Linked DNA regions of Homo sapiens: regions 2 and 3 are each linked to region 1. The links are contacts of gene promoters, found by promoter capture Hi-C in human tissues and cell types (Jung and others, 2019). All regions are on one chromosome and are shown on one strand. The core of a region is centred on a gene start or on the middle of the fragment in contact, and the rest is flanking DNA. Distances in the headings are between cores, read along the strand shown. Region 1 holds the start of UPK3B (uroplakin 3B). Region 2 overlaps ZP3 (zona pellucida glycoprotein 3). Region 3 overlaps LINC03009 (long intergenic non-protein coding RNA 3009).

The links. Contacts are between HindIII fragments. The study calls those that stand out against the background at their distance.
Region 2: a contact is called between a fragment that was not itself captured here and the fragment with the promoter of UPK3B in region 1, in 2 of the 25 tissues and cell types used here (mesendoderm cells and spleen).
Region 3: a contact is called between a fragment that was not itself captured here and the fragment with the promoter of UPK3B in region 1, in 3 of the 25 tissues and cell types used here (dorsolateral prefrontal cortex, mesenchymal stem cells and stomach).

The regions. Positions count from the first base shown.
Region 1 is chr7:76,508,686-76,513,222 of GRCh38, forward strand. It overlaps UPK3B (uroplakin 3B), which reads left to right and starts at 1,867. Exons shown (of 6, transcript NM_001347684.2): 1 at 1,867-2,052; 2 at 2,218-2,367; 3 at 2,972-3,197; 4 at 4,399-4,478. The coding sequence starts at 1,968. It overlaps LOC124901675 (a long non-coding RNA gene), which reads right to left and starts at 2,048. Exons shown (of 2, transcript XR_007060388.1): 1 at 1,839-2,048; 2 at 1-1,423. RefSeq lists a silencer at 249-454 and enhancers at 1,332-1,904, 1,905-2,477, 3,231-3,882, 3,883-4,534, 4,535-4,537. The HindIII fragment of the contact is 20,174 bases long and covers 1-4,537 here.
Region 2 is chr7:76,427,527-76,432,063 of GRCh38, forward strand. It overlaps ZP3 (zona pellucida glycoprotein 3), which reads left to right. Exons shown (of 8, transcript NM_001110354.2): 2 at 1,989-2,107. Among named protein-coding and RNA genes, the nearest start is that of ZP3, 4.8 kb to the left of the region's middle. The HindIII fragment of the contact is 7,406 bases long and covers 1-4,537 here.
Region 3 is chr7:76,585,754-76,590,290 of GRCh38, forward strand. The region is part of intron 2 of LINC03009 (long intergenic non-protein coding RNA 3009); the gene reads left to right. Among named protein-coding and RNA genes, the nearest start is that of LINC03009, 39 kb to the left of the region's middle. The HindIII fragment of the contact is 4,977 bases long and covers 57-4,537 here.

The DNA.
Region 1 (4,537 bases), core at 617-3,116:
AGTGCTGGGATTACCGCCGTAAGTCACTACACCCAGCCTCAAAAACTATATTTTTAAAAATTAGCAGCTGGGCGCAGTGGCTCATGCCTGTAATCCCAGCACTTTGGGAGGCCAAGGCAGGTAGATCGCGAGGTCAGGCGTTCGAGACCAGCCTGGCCAAGTTGGTGAAACCTCATCTCTACTAAAAATACAAAAATTAGCTGGGCATGGTGGTAGGTGCCTGTAGTCCCAGCTACTAGGGAGGCTGAGGCAGAAGAATTGCTTGAACCCAGGAGGTGGAGGTTGCAGTGAGCAGAGATCACGCCATTGCACTCCAGCCTGGGCGACAGGGTGAGACTCCATGTCTCAAAAAAAAAAAAAAATAGCCAGGCACGGTGGCTCACGCCTGTAATCCCAATACTTTAGGAGGCCAAGGCAGGAGATTTGCTTGATCCTCCCAGGAGTTAGAGATCAGCCTGGGCAACATAGCAAGATCCTGTTTCTATAAAAAATACATTTTTAAAAATTGGCCAGCCGGGCGCAGTGGCTCACACCTGCAATCCCAGCGCTTTGGGAGGCTGAGGTGGGTGGATCACCTGAGGTCAGGAGTTCGAGACCAGCCTCACCAACGTGGAGAAACCCTATCTCTACTAAAAATACAAAATTAGACAGGTGTGGTGGCACATGCCTGTAATCCCAGCTACTCAGGAGGCTGAGGCAGGAGAATCACTTGAACCCAGGAGGTGGAGGTTGCGGTGAGCCAAGATCGAGCCATTGTACTCCAGCCTGGGCAACAAGAGTGAAAACTCCGTTTCAAAAAAAACAAAAAAAAAATTGGCGGGGGTGCCAGGCACGGTGGCACATGCCTGTAATCCCAGCACTTTGGGAGGCCAAGGCGGGTGGATCACTTGAGATCAGGAATTTGAGACCAGCCAAGCCAACATGGTGAAACCCCGTCCCTACTAAAAATACAAAAATTAGCTGGCCGTGGGGCACATGCCTGTAATCCCAGCTACTTGGGAGGCTGAGGCAGGAGAATCGCTTGAACCCAGGAGGCGGAGGTTGCAGTGAGCCCAGATCACGCCACTGCACTCCAGCCTGGACAACAAAGGAGACTCCATCTTAAAAAAAAATTAATTAAATAAATTTTAAAAATTAGCCGGAGCATGGTGTTGTGTGCCTGTGGTTCCAGCTACTGGGAAGGCTGAGGTGGGAGGATTAACTGAACCTGGGAGTTTGAGGCTCCAGTTAGCTGTGAACTGACCTCCCTGGGTGACATATATATATTTAAGCCACTGAGCTGTGAAGGTTGTGAAGGTATGTGAGTTATGTCTTGAAAAATACACACATAGTGAGCGCCAAATCCCGGGAGTAGTGTTTAAGTGGCGGGCTTGTCAGCTGTCAAGGGCTCTGCAGCCCTTTCTCTGAATCCAAGTTCTTCTTCCTGTGGACAGGGAACCCAGGCTGCGAACTGGGAGGATGTGGCCTCGTGGGGGGCAGGGCCAGCGTGCTGTGATGGGGATGGGGCTGGGCAGGTTGGGGCTGCCTGCTACTCCCCACTCCTGACTCTGGGTGGGGACAGAAGGCAGAGGGAGGCTCCTGGCACCTGGGGCACAGGAATCTCAGGCATGTGGTCCTGAGCCTGTTTCCAAAAGCCAGACCCTCCTCCCCAGGGCGGAGAGACTGGGAGGGGCCCCAATCCAGGCTCCGGGATGGCCTGGCTGGCATCTGGGGTTCCAGTGGCCCCTCTCCCTTGGCCCTGGCAGTGGGGCTGGATACTGGCCTGCCTCCCACCAGAGTCCCCCCAGCTCCTCCCTGCTGTGGGCTGGCCTGGGAGGAAGGGGGTGGGGTGCACTTACATTTGCAGGTCTTTCCAGCCCCTGGGGCAGCCTGATTAACCAGCTTCTCCAGGGCCAAGCTGTTGGGGGTGAGGTGCAGCCCGAAGCAGCCAGACCAGCCCCTGAGCCTCCCGGGTGCTGGCAGCTGTCATGGGGCTACCCTGGGGGCAGCCTCACCTAGGGCTGCAGATGCTCCTCCTGGCGTTGAACTGTCTCCGGCCCAGCCTGAGCCTGGGTGAGTGGGGGTCCTGGATGGACGCGTCCAGCCAGACCCAAGGGGCTGGGGGCCCTGCTGGAGTGATTGGACCCTGGGCGCCCGCCCCCCTCCGATTGGGAGAGGCAGCCCCAGGGACCCCCACGCCCGTCTCCGTGGCTCACCTTTTGTCCCCCGTGGCCACAGAGCTGGTGCCCTACACACCACAGATAACAGCTTGGGACCTGGAAGGGAAGGTCACAGCCACCACCTTCTCCCTGGAGCAGCCGCGCTGTGTCTTCGATGGGCTTGCCAGCGCCAGCGATACCGTCTGGCTCGTGGTGGCCTTCAGCAATGGTACGGGGACTGCTGTGGGGCCTGGGTGAGGGTGACGGCTGAGGAGAGTGGTGGGCCCTAGGAGCCCCTCACCAGCAAGCGCCTTCAATGATTGAGCCCCTGTGGGGGCCTTTGGGAGAGTAGGTGTGGATGAATTGGGCTTTATCTAAAGGGGTAATATGTGTATTGAAAAATACACACGTAGTGAACACCAAATCCCGGGAGTAGTGCTAGTGGTGGGTTTGTCAGCTGTCAAGGGCTCTGCAACCCTTTCTCTGAATCCAAGTAGTTCTTCCTTTGGACAGGGAACCGAGGCTGCGACCTGGGAGGATGTGGCCTCCTGTGGGGCAGGGCCGGTGCACTGCAATGGGGCTGGGGCTGGGGCTGGGCAGGTTGGGACTGCCCGCTGCTCCCCACTCCTGGCTCTGGGTGGGGACAAAAGGCCAGAGGGAAGCTCCCCTTCAGGGGTAACAAAGTCGACTGGGTCTGGACTATCTCTGGGGGCCCTGAGGGAGGAGGTGGCATGGGGGGTCAGGGCTGGAGACTGGGCGAACACAGAACCCCCACTCATAAGGACAAAGCTGCTTTCTCCCCTCCCACCTCCATCTGTTCTCTCCTCCTGCAGCCTCCAGGGGCTTCCAGAACCCGGAGACACTGGCTGACATTCCGGCCTCCCCACAGCTGCTGACCGATGGCCACTACATGACGCTGCCCCTGTCTCCGGACCAGCTGCCCTGTGGCGACCCCATGGCGGGCAGCGGAGGCGCCCCCGTGCTGCGGGTGGGCCATGACCACGGCTGCCACCAGCAGCCCTTCTGCAACGCGCCCCTCCCTGGCCCTGGACCCTATCGGTGGGTGGTCCCCACCGGAGCCCTGGGACTGGGGCTGTGCTTGGGGCGGACGCATTGCTGGGACCAGGGATGCTCTCTCTAGCATCTTTCCAGGGAGGGGTCCCCGGCCCCGGTCCTCCCCTTTGCAAGCCCGGGCTCCTTCCACTGTAGAGTCAGCAACAGTGCTCACCCCCGCTGGGGCCGGGCAAGGCCCAGGAGGAGCAGGTGGGCACCTTGGGGAGGCGGGATCTTAGTCAAGGTGGGAGGGGGCAGCTTCCCCAAAGTCTAGGCCCCTGTCCCCCACCACGGGCAGATCTGGCAGGAAACTCGGGGGCCGAGTTCAGACCCAGTCTCGTCGGTATTAGGCAGGGAGCAGGAGAGGTGGCTCCTACCCGCTCTTACAGATGAGGAAACTGAGGCACAGGAGGTCAAGTGGCCTGCCAACATCGGGGTGGAGCCGGGATGGGGAAGCAGGCAGTGTGTCCAGGTCAGGACTGTCCGGACACAGGAGGAGGCGGGGTGACCTCAGGAAGACCAGGCCCAGGGGAAGCCGGGAAGGCAGGGCGTGGTGAGGCTGGAACAGCACCCCGCTCCGCCCAGCCCCCTTCTGCCCTCTCACCCACTCTCCAGGTCCACCCTCTGCCCTCCCCGCTGCCTCACCCTGGCTCAGCCTTCCAGCTCCATGCCCCGCCCCATCCCCCGCAGCCACTCTTTTCAATGCCAACCTGCCAGGTCCTTCCCCGCTTCCCAGGCCTTGCAGAGCTCCCAGCCCTGCAAAGAGACAAACCGAGGCCCTCTGCGGGGCTCCTGGTGCCCTGGGTCCTCAGGCTGCTGGTGATTGAGCCCCCTGCCCCCGGCTACTGCTGCCCCTCTGGGAGGCCTGTGACCCCTGCCCCATGTGCCCTGCTAAGCCACCTTCACCTGCTCTTTTGGCTTGTGACATTTAGGAACCAGGGCCCCTAAACCAGCATCCCCGGCCCAGGTCTGGTGTCTGGAGAGCAATTGCTCGGGGGGATGAGGGGTGGTGGCACAGGCCAAGTGGCTGGAGACATCTCAGGGGATTCTCAGAGCAGGGCCAGGCCATGGGCTGCTGCTCTTGACGGGCACCCCCACTCCACATCCATGGGAGGGCCCCAGAGGAGCTGCCTGGGGCTTGGCCCTGCCCAGGGTGGTCCCAGCCTCTGAAGCTCTCCCCTCCTCCCCCACCACCTCCCATCCCCAGGGTGAAGTTCCTCCTGATGGACACCAGGGGCTCACCCAGGGCTGAGACCAAGTGGTCAGACCCCATCACTCTCCACCAAGGTAGCGCTGGGCAGGAGGGGCGCTGCCCCCAGTGGACTCACGATCTCTCTGGGCCGCCT
Region 2 (4,537 bases), core at 1,418-3,917, 80 kb before region 1:
AAAAAAAAATACAGCCATGGCCAGTTTCCCAGGTATACAACCTGTGCAGTTCTGTGGGGCCCAGTGCTTAATGGAATGCCCTCTTGCCCTGAAATGGTAATAACTTTTGAATAAGGGGCCCCACGAGCTATGCTGGTTCTGTCTGTGCTGGGGCACTTGCTAATAAGGTCTAGGACTATTCCCTGAAGATCGAGTTTGGTCAGGGCCAGGCAGCCACCTGAGCTCTTGGGCAACTTCGACCTCCTAGGCTCAAGCCATCCTCCTGCCTCAGCCTCCTGAATAGCTGGGATGGACTACAGGCACATGCCACCGTGCCCAGCCAAGTTATGTTTTTGTAGAGATGGGGTCTAGCTCTATTGCCCAGGCTGGTCGTGACTTCCTGGCCTCAAGCAATCCTCTTCCCTCCCAAAGTGCTGGGATTACAGGCATGAGCCACTGCACCCAGCCCTCAAGTAGTTTTTAAATAAGCTCCCTGAGATGAGAGGTGGGGATAGTGAGCTTAGAATAGGTGGTTGGGGGTTGAGTCATGGTGGCTCACACCTGTAATCCAGCACTTTGGGAGGCTGAGGCAGGTGGATCACCTGAGGCCAGGAGTTCGAGACCAGCCTGGCTAACATGGCGAAACCCTGTCTCTATTTAAAAAAAAAAAAAAAAGGCACGGTGGCACGTGCCTGTAATTCCAGCTACTCAGAGGCTGAAGCAGAGAATTGCTTGAACCTGGGAGGCGGAGGTTGCAGTGAGCCGAGTTCGTGCCACTGCACTCCAGCCTGGGTGACAGAGCAAGACTGCATCTCAAAAAAACAAAAGGTGGTTAGGAAGTGACTAAAGTAGGGGTTTCCAGTGCTGGCTCTATGCTAATCACCTGGAAAGGTTGTAAAAATACTGATTCTCAAGAGAATCTCATACCTTCACTCTACTGGGGTAGGGCCTAGCGTCACATTTTTCTAATATTCTAGCAAAATCTTCGAACTTAGGTGTTTGCTATAAAACTCTCTCCCAGGCAGGCCCTGCCTTCTGCAGCCCTATTGGACGATGCAAATTTCCCCAGTAGTACTCACCTGTGCTCTTCCTGCCTCAGGCAACCTCTGAATCAGTCTCCCCCACCTTATGTGAAATGGGCTTGAATAGGTTAGAAGCTGATGTGGGTTGTTGTGTTTTTTGTTTGTTTTTGTTTTTGAGAGTTTTGCTCTTGTTGCCCAGGCTAGAATGCAATGGCACGATCTCCGCTCACTGCAACCTCTGCCTCCCGGGTTCAAGCGATTCTTCTGCCTCAGTCTCCCGAGTAGCTGGGATTACAGGCACGTGCCACCACACTCAGCTAATTTTTTTTTTTTAAGTAGAGATGGGGTTTCACCATGTTGGTCAGGCTGGTCTCAAACTCCTGACCTCAGATGATCTGCCCTCCTCAGCCTCCCAAAGTGCTGGGATTACGGGCGTGAGCCACAGCGCCCAGCCAGAAGCTGATAAGTGTTAACAGCTGGGCACTTCCTGACTGCTTCCTGGCGGCTATCTTGGCCCTGGGCCTCTCCTGAAAGAGGAAACTGTATGTACTGGGGGGCATGGAGGGGGAGTGTCAGAAGGGATGTGTCATGTGCCCTGATGCCTCTATTGCTTGGGTGTTACATGGTATCTGCCATGTGGTTGATCCAGTCTGCCTGTGGTGGTGTCAATATGTGGTGTCAGGTAAAGATTCCGAGGTACAAAGACAGTACCTGTCCTGCCTCTTTCCTGACCAGTGGCAGAGCCTGTGTTCTCTTTTGTAGAGATGGGGTCTTGCTATGTTTCCCAGGCCAGTCTCAAACTCCTGGCCTCAAGCAATCCTTGGCCTCCCAAAGTGCTGGGGTTACAGGCATGAGTCACTGCACCTGGCCTTGACCCTGTGGTCTTTCTGTCCCCTTGTGGGCTGCCCTCCCTGAGCACTCAGGTATGGCTTGGGAGTACCCGGGCAGGTGATGGCCGGCAGCATTAACTTCTCACCTTTCCTCCAGGTAACTGACGATGCCCTGGTGTACAGCACCTTCCTGCTCCATGACCCCCGCCCCGTGGGAAACCTGTCCATCGTGAGGACTAACCGCGCAGAGATTCCCATCGAGTGCCGCTACCCCAGGTCGGTGTGGGACTGACTCATGGCCCCTGGTGCAAAAGCCCCTTGGGTGTGGCTGCAGGCAAGTGGGCTGGCTATGGGCTACAGCTTGCAGCATGGCTATTAGAACTACCTACCGAAGCATTTGCAGCTGTGGTTACTGTACTGCGTGGGATTGTGGGGCCTGCTGAGTCTAGTTCGAGCCCCAGAAGAGTATCAGGAGCCCAACTGCAGCTTAGCGGAAGCTTCAGAGCTGCTCAGCCCTGGTGGTGGTACTATGCCAGCCTCGGCCCTTAGGGTTCAGAAATGGCCTTCCAATAGTGCTAGGCTGGGGCCAGGTGCAGTGGCTCATCCTGTAATCCTAGCACTTTGGGAGGCTGACAGGTGGATCGCTTGAGGTCAAGGAGTTCAAGACCAGTCTGGCCTACATGGTGAAACCCCATCTCTACTAAAAACACAGAAATTAGCCGGGTGTCTATAATCCCAGCTACTTGGGAGGCTGAGGCAGGAGAATTGCTTGAACCCAGGAGGCAGAGGCTGCAGTGAGCCGAGATTGCACTGCTGTACTCCATTCTGGGCAACAAAGCGATACTCCATCGCAAAAAATAATAATAAAATAGTGCTAGGCTGCGTTCTAGAATCTGACCTGGGCGGTGGTGGCCTACTCTTCTGTGGTCCTCAAGCCCCTGGCATCAAGCACGTGCCTGTGAACTCAGGCCCTGAAGTGGGAGGAGAAACTATGGCTCCCAAGGACAACACTGGGTCCTGTGCTGGCCTCAGCATGGGGTGCAGGGGACTTTGTCCCTGCCCTTGAACCAGTCTGGGAGTGGGTATAAGATGATGCGGCCAGGTATGGTGGCTCACGCCTGTAATACCAGCCCTTTGGGAGGCCAAGGTGGGCAGCTCACGAGGTAAGGAGTTCAGGACCAGCCTGGCCAACATGGTGAAACCCATCTCTACTAAAAACACAAAAAAATTAGCCGAGTGTGGTAGCGCGTGCCTGTAATCTCAGCTACTCAGGAGGCTGAGGCAGGAGAATCATTTGAACCCAGGATGCAGAGGTTGCAGTGAGCTGAGATGGCACCATTGCACTCCAGCCTGGGCAACAGAGCAAGACTCCATCTCAAAAAGAAAATGCTAGTGTGAAGTGGGTAGGGAGCTGATACCAGTCAGGACATCATGAGGGATGAGCCATGCCCCTGGGAGGGGTCATGGTAGGGGTTATCCTAGAACAGGATCCTGGAGTGGGGGACCTTGAGGCTGAGATGGCCTGGGCAGAGCCATGTGGCCACACACCCAACGGGAGGGTAGTGTGCCCTTAGTAGGTGACATGCAGCCTGGGGGCTGGAGCCCAGGGACTGGGGTAATGAGGGAGCCAGACAGATGGGCTCACCAGCCTCACCACAGGTGCCCCTCCTGGAATGGGTGAGGACTGAATCTCCACCCAGGGTCACCTGGTGGCTGGTGCTGAAGACAAATGGGAACTAGTGAGAACCAGCTGGGAGGCTGGAAAACTGGGATTCAATGAGGCCTGACCCATGGTTGCAGGGACCGTAGAGGCTGACTCGCAGGAGCTAAGAGCAGTTGGAGGAGCTTGGTGCCTATGTGGGTAGGGGAGATGGAGGAGGATAGAGGAGTCAAGGGCAGGCTGCCCAGTCGGCATGAGGGACTGAAGCTGTCCTGTGACCGTGGAAGTCTGACTTCAGTCTCTGGGCCTGACCCCTGAGGATGGTGGCTCACCTGGTCCATTGGCTGTAGGTAGTATTAGAGAGGCTGGTTGTAGGCTGGGATGCTTTAACCTGGCTCCAGATACCTGAGTCTGGTTATCAATAGATGCATCCATCACTTGGAGTAGCTTCTTCCAGCAGATCCTATGGGGTTAGCAGGGTAGGTATCTGCAGATACCCAGACCTGCTTCCATGGACTTCCCAGTCACTGGTGTGGGTCCAGGCTCTCGGTAGCATCTCAAGACCTAAGGGCCTGTCTTTGATCTCTAAAGGATGGCCTTGGCTGGGCATGGTGGCTCACGCCTATAATCCCAGCACTTTGGGAGGCCGAGGCGGGCGGATCATGAGGTCAGGAGATGGAGACCATCCTGGCTAACGTGGTGAAACCCCGTCTCTACTAAAAATACAAAAAATTAGCCAGGCCTAGTGGCGGGTGCCTGTAGTCCCAGCTATTTGGGAGGCTGAGGCAGGAGAATGGCGTGAACCTGGGTGGTGGAGCTTGCAGTGAGCCGAGATCGTGCCACTGTACTCCAGCCTGGGAGACAAAGTGAGACTCCGTCTCAAAAAAAAAAAAAAAAGATGGCCTTAGCTGATTCCCCTCTCAAGCATCCTGTGGAGTACTGTGCAGGGCCTGCTATCAGACCCCAAACCTGAACCTCTAGGGCTAAAGTATGTGTGGTGGCTTTTGGTTTTTTGTTTAAAAAAAAAAAGTCTTACTCTGCCGCCC
Region 3 (4,537 bases), core at 1,295-3,794, 78 kb after region 1:
AGGACTAAGTTCACCCCTCTGTTTAAACATAAACCTTCTGAGCAATCTACCTGATGTCCTGTGAATCATGATGTTTTCCATTCTGGCTGTTGAGAACAACACTATTCCTATCCCTTTGTGAGCACTGAAGACTTTTCCCTCATACCCTTTCAGGTGGTTCTTTTCCCAAACTCAAGTAGTTTTCTCACATGCACTGAGCAGTACTCAGCTGTATGTACAAGGGGGACTCTGGAGATTTCTGGGGTTATTTCTTTGTATAGCTCTCTCTACTTCAGTACTGTGCTGTATACATGCCAGCCACCTTGATCTCCCTGCAATTCCAGCTCCTCAACTCAAAGTTCTGTGTTCCACTTGTGTTCCCATTCTGTGGTATAAGAATAAATGCATATTTACTGTTTGTTCCATTTCTGGTACAAAGCAGAGCCTAAAAGCCTTGTAATTTCCTGAGTGATAGGAGTGTCTTTTGTTAATAATAACAAACTTCTTTCAACCACATTTGAATTTATGCTAATGAGGTGACCCTCTTATGGCCGTGAGATAGCTTCAGGGTGGGGGTTGGTTGTCAGAAGAACCAGCCTTCTCATTAGAAGGTTGGAACTTTCAGTCCCTTAACCTCCAGGGAGAGAAGAGGGGTTGGAGATTGATTTCACTCACAAGTGACCACTGATTTAACAAATCATGCCTATGTGATGGAGTCTCCATAAAAAACCCTAACCCATGGGGTTTGAGAGCTTCCAGGTTGGTGAACACATTGAAATGCTGGAAGGGTGGTGCAACTGGAGAGGTCACGGAAGCTCTGCACCCTTTCATCCATACTTTGACCTTTGCGTCTCTTCCATTTGGCTGTTCCTGAGCTTTATAATAAACTGGCAATAGTAACATTAAAATAATTAATCGGGAGACCAATAGGCTGAGACAACTAGCACCTTGGGTTCTTACAGAAGCAAACAAAAACCCAACTCAGTGTCAACAGTAACATGAAACTTAAGCTTAGCTAATCAGCTACTGCCAGTCAACCTCTAAGGACTTCCACTTTAACTAGTCAAATATTTTCTTTGTCATGTTTCCATGCATCCCCTATAAAAGTGTTTGCCTCATGCCCCCTTAATGGAGCACTAACTGCTTGTTTTCTGGTGCTGGCCAATCCATATATTGCTGCATGCTCAAATAAATTCATTAAGATTTTAATTTGCCTAATTTTATCTTTTAATAGTCTGTAAAGCTGTTTCCAGTGTCTGTAAATTGCTACAGCAAATTCTTAACCATGGGGGGATGTCCTGGGAACCCCTTACTTTGTAGTTGGCCAAGCATAAAGGTAGGTAGTCTAGGCACCCCATTAGCAACTGGAGTCTGAAGTGTGGTCAGTCTTGTGGGACTGAAGCTTTCAAACCTATAGAGTCTCATGCAAACTCTCGGTAGTTAGTGTCATAATGGAATTTAATTGTAGGACCTCTGGTTGGTGTAAAAAATCAGAGAATTGGAAAATTGGTTGTTGGTGTTAGAAAACACCCAGGTCTTCCTTGTGCTATGACCTGGAAGCTTTCTCCAGGCAGTAAATAGAGCAATCAAAAGGCTCATGCTTTTTGTCAATGGATCATTGTCTTTCATTTTTTAATGGTCAATGTATTGAGAACTTTTATTTTAAATATTTTGTCCACTTTTTTAGTTGCTTCATGTGGGAGAGTAAGTCCAGTCTCTGTTACTCCCTCTTGGCAGGAAGTGAAAATCCCTTTATCTCTCGAATCTGCAACCCCACAACTTTCCATCCGCAGTCATCATAGATGCTCCTACTGTTTTGTTCACGTGTGATCTTCAAAGGTCAATTCTCAATCCTCGTCTTATTTTATCTACTACTGTCAATTCCCACATAGTTACTTATTTCTCTCCTCCCTTGCTGACTTAGGTTTTCTAGGGTGGCCTTCTTAAAGTGCCACAAATGGGGAGTTTACAATAAACAGAAATTTATTTTCTCCCTGTTCTGGAGAATTGAAGTCCAAAATCAACATGTTGACAGGACTATGCTCCCCTCTGAAACTCATAAAGGAAGAATTCTTTCTTGTCTCTTCCTGGCTTCTGGTGGTTTGCCAGCAATCTTTGTCATTCCTCTACTTGTAGCAGCAGCACTTCAATCTCTGCCTCCAATATCATGTCATTCTCACCTCATGCATCCATGTCTTCACATGACATTCTCTTCTGTGTGTTTCTATCCCTTCTTCTTATAAGGTCACCAGTCATATTGGATCCCTATTCTAATGATCTCCTTTGAATTTGATTACATTTAAAAGATCTTATTTCTAAAGAAGATCACATGCACAGGTACTGAAGCTTCAGATTTCAACATATATTTTGGGAGGACAACATTCAGCCTGTAACACTGATTATTCTATTATACCTTCTTCTGAACTTCTGAAAGTTGAAGCATCCTAGCTGAGTCTTCAGACTTCTTCTTTTGCATACTCCCTCAGTAATAATCTTATCGGGTCCTAAGTCTTTAAACATCACCTCAACATTAAAGTTTCCAAACATTATATTATTGATGCCAATTTGTTTCCTGAATTCCAAATTCATATGTTCAACTGCAAAATCTATATTTCTAACTAAAGAAATCCAAAACAAAGCCTTTTTTCTGATTCCTGCCGACCCTCCCATCAAACATGTCCTTCTATTCTTTCTCATCTTAGGAAATGAAAATACTATTTCTCACTGTTGCTCACATTAAAAATTTGAATAACTTTAAACTTTGTTAAAACCCAGTAAATCTGAAATTTAGCATCCTAAATTTACCATCTAGCATCGTCTGATATCCTTGCCCAGTCATCATTGTTTTTTGTTTCTAATTTAACTTTAGCCCTTGCAATAGTTCTCTAATTGGTCTTCCTGTTTACATTATTACACATTGTATTCCATCATCTGCAAACTAACCACAGTAGTCATTTTCATGTTCAAAACTTTTATTGGCTTCTCATTACACATAGAACAAAGTTCATATTTTTAAACTCTAAACAATATTGTTCTATGTAATCTAGCATTGCATCCTCCTCCTCAATCTCACTTCCTTCCCTTCTTCCTGTTGCTCACTCCACTAGCTTTCTAGCTTCTGTTTGAATAAGTCAAGCACTTTCCTACCTCAAGGGCTTTGCAATAGTTCCTTTCTGCCGGGCACAGTTTTCTCAACCTTCTCATGAATTTCTTTCCACAAATATTCTTTTTTTTTTTTTTTTTTTGATGGAGTCTTGCTCTGTCACCACCCAGGCTGGAGTGTAGTGGTGTGATCTCAGCTCACTGCAACCTCCACCTCCTGGATTCAAGCGATTCTCCTGCCTCAGCCTCCCAAGTAGCTGAGACTACAGGCATGTGCCACCAAACCAAGCTAATTTTTGTAACTTTAGTAAAGACAGGGTTTTACCATGTTGGCCAGGATGGTCTTGATCTCTTGACCCTGTGATCTGCCCGTCTAGGCCTCCCAAAGTGCTGGGATTACAGGGGTGAACCACTGCGCCTGGCTCTCTTCCCATAAATATTCTATAGTTCAATCTCTCTTTTATTCAAATCTGTGTCCCCAAAATCACTTCCAGAGATGACTTAAACCACTGTGTGTCCTGACCACTGTGACTTAAACATCACACCCAGGATTTCTCCAGTTCTCTCTGCTTTATTTCTCCTTATAATTCTAATCCTTTATTGACATTATTTTAGAGATTTTAGAGATATATGTATTTGTTTGCATGATTTCCCCTTTCCTCCATCAGACTGCAGCCCTATGAGGATCAGGATTTTTGTCTGTTTTTAGTATATTTAAAAAATTCCTGCTTAATACATAGGAGTTATTCAAAATATTTCTGAAAATGGAGTAATTTTTATTTATTGATACATACCTAGTATTTATCAGAATGCCTGGCATAATATAGGTTTCAGTAGGTATTTGCTCAATGAATGAAGAGTTTCTTAATGTAAACTGAATAAACAGAAACAAATTATTAGGAAATGTAATTTAGATTTAAAAGGCCTCTGTTGTTTACAAATGAATTCTAATCAGGTAGGTACTAGCAGCTCCTCAGGGAGGTAAAAGCTATCATTTAGAATGTGGCTGCCCTTTCTGGGTAGCTTTTTGTTTTTTCTGATCATAATGGCATGCAAAAAGATAATACAAGAAAGTACCAATGCTAAGGCTTACATTGGTAAAGAGAGAGAGAATATTACTCTTCAGCAATTGTTCATTGTTATCAGTACTGGATTTGATTACGGATATAGGATTTATAGCTCTAAATTTGGAGCTCTAAAGAAACCTTTAGTTTTGAAATAACTGTAAGAATTTGTAACTCTTGAGTTTCCAATATTAAATCATTTTCCCAACTTTTAAAAGTTAGATTCTCCTTTTATCCATAAAATGGTCCTGAATACTTGAAGTTTATTATAATCACATATCTCATGTTAAAACAAAAAAAAAGCTACAATCCCTGAACTAACAATTTTCTTTTTGGGGATTCTGGGCAAGAGGGCTGACTAGAAGCAGCTAATATGCACCAATTTCAAGGAG